Linked DNA regions of Homo sapiens: region 2 is linked to region 1. Evidence: promoter capture Hi-C in 16 types of primary human blood cells and fetal thymus (Javierre and others, 2016). All regions are on one chromosome and are shown on one strand. Each heading gives the region's core, a stretch centred on a gene start or on the middle of the fragment in contact. The rest is flanking DNA. Distances are from core to core; before and after follow the strand shown.

Region 1 (2,700 bases), core at 38-2,537:
AAAATAATGTTGCTTACAAAGCCAAAGTTAAAAAACCCCAAGACCATTACAGTGCCAAATTCTTTTCCCCAGAACGGACTATTACTATCATTCTCCCACTATTGATAAGGAGCTCGTTCACTGACTAGGTCACCAACTACCAGCAATTCGTGATTTTACTTAAATATCAGAACAGGACAGCCTCTGAGTTTTGCTCTAAAAGGTAAAGAAGAATTTCAGCAACTGTCAGAGATCGTCTCTTGTTATCTAGACCTCCCCTGGCTCAGCGTCTGGTTCACTGTAGGTGCCACGAGTTGGGAGCTGACCTAGTTCATAGACTTTAGAGATAAAGAGGGGAGATGTGCGCATCATTTGAAAACAAGTATGTGGCTTACCAGCACACCAGCTTTTTCTTTTCATCCATATATTCCCCTAAGGCCACATGGTGCTCTGGGATTAGAAAATGGAGAAGTACAATATGCTCCACGCTAGGACTAGATGGCTCTTTCTTCTGCCTCCTGGGTTTGGTATTTCTTTAGGGTCATCATGCTACTCTTCTCATCTTCCTGATCTGTGGTTGTTCTGCAACTGCCATACTCTCAGCTGCAATTGAAATGTCCCTGTCTGACCCTGAGCCATACAGATTCAATATGCAGCCTTTCCAAATGACAATCCTAATAAACAGAAATGTATTCTAGCCAACAGTGGGAGATGCAGAAGGAAGCAGCTTCTGTATCCTCTGTGAAGAGATGGTCCTCTTTCCCATTACAAATTTTACAGCACCCATTCCTTTTTTTTTCATAGCACTTGTCACAATTGTTACTATATCAATTATTTGTGTCTCTGATTAGACTGTGAAATCCGAGTAGATTCCATGACTGTCTTATTTATCATTTTACACCAGTATTGGGCTGAAAGTCTAGCAGGCCATCAGTGCCAAAGGTATATTTGTTGAATAAATAAATGAACTCTAGATATTAGGTTTATACTTTAACTTTACAATATATAGTAGTTATTCCTTATTCATGGGGCTATGTTCCAAGACCCCCAGTAGATGCTTGAAACAGTCGATAATACTGAACTCTATATATACAGTGCTTTTTTTCTATACATGCAGACCTATGATAAAGTTAAATTTATAAATTTGGCACAGTAAGATTTTAATAACAATAACTAATAATAAAACAATTATAACAATATGCTATCATAACAATACTATAAAAGTTATGTGAATGTGAACTCTGTCTCCCCCAAAATATCTTACTGTGCTATGCTCACTCTTCTTCTTGTGCTGATGTAAGATGATATAATGCCTATGTGATGAGAGGAAGTGAGGAAAACGACATAGGCATTGTGACATAGCATTAGGCTATTGCTAATCTTCTGACCATAGCTCAGAAGGGGGATCATCTCCTTCGGGTGATGCTGGGTCACTGAGCCATGGTGATGTTAGTGGCTGGATCTCAGAAGCATATGATTTCAATAACTAATGGGCAGGTAGTGTTTACAGTGTGGATACACTGGACAAAGGGATGATTCACATTCTGGGTGTGTGGAGCTGCGTAGTGCAAGATTTTGTGTTACTCAGAACAGCATGCAATTTAAAACTTATGAATTGTTTATTTATGGAATTTTGTGTTTATTTATTTATTTATTTTGAGATGGAGGCTTGCTCTGTCACCCAGGCTGGAGTGCAGTGGCGTGATCTTGGCTCACTGCAACCTCTGCCTCCCAGGTTCAAGTGATTCTCCTGCCTCAGCCTCCTGAGTAGCTGAGATTACAGGCACCTGCCACCACACCTGGCTGATTTTAGTATTTTTAGTAGAGACGGGGTTTCACCATGTTGGCCAGGCTGGTCTCGAACCCCTGCCCTCAGGTGATCCACCCACCTTGGTCTCCCAAAGCGCTGGGATTACAGGCATGAGCCACTGCACCCAGCGTATTTAATATTTTGGACTGTGGTTGACTGTAAGTAACTAGAACTGTGGCTGGGTGGGGAACTACTGCAGATATATTCCTAACAGCTGGTATTTGGAGCACTTTTAGGCATCAAGGATTGTAGTATGTATTTTTTTTAATATTGCCTCACTTAATCTTACAAATGATCTCTTAACTAGACATTTTCACAATTCACATTTTCAAGATGTTGAAGCAGAGATTTGAGTAATTCTTCTAAAATCACACATCTGGGACTGATAAGTCTTACAGAGATTCTAGAACCCAAATTAATTAACCACTCTTCTATATTGTCTCCTGGGACAAAGGGGTTCTGAAATATAGCAAAAATTCTACTTTGAATCTAGTCTGGGCCAGCCAGGAAGAATTAGTAGATGCCAGGGCCTGGGGAGCTAGAACCTATGGTAAGGAAGTGACACTGAAAAAGCTAAAGAATCTTTCTTTCTTTCTCTCTCTCTTTCTTTTTCTTTCTTTCTTTCTCTCTCTCTTTCTTTTTCTTTCTCTTTCTTTCTTTCTTTCTTTCTTTCTTTCTTTCTTTCTTTCTTTCTTTCTTTCTTTCTTTCTCTCTCTCTCTCTCTTTCTTTTCTTTCTTTCTTTTCTTTCACAGACGTCTTGGGACGCAAAGGGCCAAGGCATCAGAAACACTTGGTACCAGCTTCCACAGCAACAATGAGAGGTAACCCCAGTGCTTCCACTACCAACAGGACATTACCACTTGCAGGCAGAGAAACAGACAAGAAAAATAGTGGATGCCACATATTAGGA
Region 2 (2,700 bases), core at 21-2,520, 270 kb before region 1:
TTCCTGGCTGGATCAGCAAAACCACAGTGATCCACATTTGATTGATGTATTTTGAGTTTACATTTATTCCCAATGTTTATTTTCTTGTAAAAATGAGCGCATTATTGATTAAAAGAGAGAGACACAATATCCAAAAGGTGGAAGTAGCCTAGGTGTCCATCCGTGGATGAATGAATGAACAAATGTGGTCTGTGTGCTCAGTGGAGTATTACTCAGCCTTAAAAAGGAAGTCTTGCACTGCTACAACAGATGAATCCTGAAGACATTACGCTAAGTGAAACAAGCCAGTCACCAAAGGACAAACACTCTATGATCCCACTTCTGTGGGGCCCCCAGAGCCGTCAAATTCATGACGACAGAAAGCAGAAGAGGGGTTGCCAGGTGGTGGGGCCAGGATCGGGGTGCGGGAGGATGGGGAGTTAGAGTTTAATGGGTGCAGAGTTTCAGTTTTGCACGATGAAAACAGTTGTAGAGATTAGTTTCACAACAGTGTGAACACATTTACTATCACTGAACTGTACACTTAAAAATGGTTAAGATGGCTAATTTTATATGTATTTTATCACAATTTAAAGAAGAGAAAAATGGAGAGGCAGTGTACAAGCTTAGTAAGTAGAAAGTAAATTGTGAAAACCTTTTTCCTAACACTTCATTCTATTTGCTTCTTTGGCCAAAGGTGTAAGTAGCATTGATGGACGATTAGGTAGAACTAGCCATCCAGAATTGGTTCTACAAGATTGCCTTTCTGGCTCTTCAGTGTTTCTCTTTGCCCAAGCCTCAGTGTTATCCTGCTATCACAGCAGGGCTGATCACTAAGGAGAAGGTTATCCTTGGTGAGGAGGTGGAAAATGGTGATTTTTAAATGTTGTACTACAAGCAACCGAGTTTTGATCTGCAAATCTATCATATTTATAATCTGCATTAAAATTTTAAGTCACATTCATAAAATATAGGAGTGGATGCACTTTTAAAATTTCTTTGGAATGCAAATCAGATTGGATTAAAGCTATTAACCATGTGTAATAAAAGACTGTAGATTTTGTAGCAGCTTCATGCTCTACCTAAGATGTCTGCCAAGTAAGTGAAATGTATTTGTAAAAAGGCAGATGGAACTACTAGACGTATTGTCATCGAACTATTCTCCAGGGGCACTGATTTCAGTGCAGGTGCTTTAGATGGGAGGAAGGCTGAGAGCAGGGTCTGTGGGGCCCCTATTGCAGAGAAGCTCCGTTTCATCTACTTTATATTTGATTTGTAAATGTTTGATTTGCTTGGCTAAAGAATTCTGAGGCTAGAGCAACAAAACAAAACAGAAGGAGAGAGGTTGGGAAGAAAACGTGAAGTAACACCAAAAAACTAACTGCTATTGCAAAACAAGGATAAAATAGATAATTCAAGATAGATGTGATTGATTGCCATAAAGATTCATGAACACGTCAGGTGAACCCGAGTCTGGAGGCTAGAGGAAGAGGAGCCGACGGAATTTGAGGAGGATGTGTGTCTGGTCTGAAGAGGAGGTAGAGACTTCCTGCGAAGGCTAGCAGAGTAAAGGTTTGCTTTCTCCCTTTCCTCCCCGAAGACCAGCACATCAGATGAAAAGAACCCCCCAAATCAAGTAAAACTTTTATCTGCAGTGAAATTAAGAGATAACTCATATCCCCAACTATAGAAAACTGCCGAATATAATATAAATCCAGACCACATGGAGGGAAAGACTTCGAGAGCTGGTCCATACCTCTCAGCTCTCCTGCCTGTTCGCCTCCCAAATGCCCAACCTCCAAATACCATCACATGTGGGTTAGGGTTGCCAGGAGTAAATTTCCTTGTTAATAAAATGAATGAGATAGGAAAGAAAGCGGCAATGTTTTCATTATTTGCAGATAAAATACTGGTCAACTTCACTAAACAAATGTAAATTCCCTGTGGAGGGAGCTATAAAGCTTTACTGAAGGGCATAAAAGAAGACATGAATAAATGGAGAAAGATACTAGATCCTTGGATTGGAAAAGTTGGCAGCATTCTTTATTCCAAACTCCCTCAAACAAATCTATAAATTTAACACAGTCTCAGGAAACATCCCAGCAAGATTTCTTAAATACAACGTGTCCAGCTGATTATAAAATTTATATGAAAGAGTTATTGTACAAGAATAGCCAAGATAATTTTTTAAAAGGAGACTTAAGAAAGGGGAACTTGCCTTATCAGAAATCAAAACAAACTAGAGACACACTGGCACGGAAGCTAAAGCAGTGATGTTCATTGCAGCCCTGTTGTGTGTAGCAGTGAAAAATTACTTGCTGAAATGCAGCCAAGGTATTAGGAATGGGGAGGCTGTGGCATAAAAAGATTGGCATTAGCATTGAATCCTTTCAAATATCATGTACAGCTAAACAGCTGTGAGAATTATGGAGTAGAATGTAAGTGTTATGTGCCTTAACAATGCCAAACTAATAAATCCTCTTCGAAGAGAGAAGTAGATCTGTGCTGATATGGAAAAATGTCTAAACAGATATGCGTCCCTGCAGAAACAGCTGCAGAGGAGTATCCATGGTATGATCCCACGTGTGTTCAGCACACTGCTCTGTTCTTTCCTGTACTGAGGGAGCCCATTTCTGGTGAGGATTATTTCCACCACCCCGATGACACAGGCTTGGCTATGAGACTTGCTTTGATCAAGAATATGTGACTCGAAGTCACTAT

The links. Contacts are between HindIII fragments. The CHiCAGO score rates a contact against its expected background, and 5 or more counts as called.
Region 2: a fragment that was not itself captured here is called in contact with the fragment with the promoter of DEFB134 in region 1 in 6 of 17 cell types (neutrophils, M2 macrophages, M0 macrophages and 3 more); the score reaches 6.0 in neutrophils.

Annotation. Positions count from the first base shown.
Region 1 is chr8:11,999,465-12,002,164 of GRCh38, forward strand. DEFB134 (defensin beta 134) reads right to left here and starts at 1,288. Exons shown (of 3, transcript NM_001302695.2): 1 at 1,244-1,288. It overlaps LOC105379245 (a long non-coding RNA gene), which reads left to right and starts at 2,669. Exons shown (of 3, transcript XR_001745644.2): 1 at 2,669-2,700. It also overlaps the pseudogene OR7E160P and the pseudogene LOC100421446. The HindIII fragment of the contact is 7,293 bases long and covers 1-2,700 here.
Region 2 is chr8:11,731,184-11,733,883 of GRCh38, forward strand. All of the region lies in intron 2 of GATA4 (GATA binding protein 4), which reads left to right. Among named protein-coding and RNA genes, the nearest start is that of SNORA99, 27 kb to the left of the region's middle. The HindIII fragment of the contact is 1,336 bases long and covers 603-1,938 here.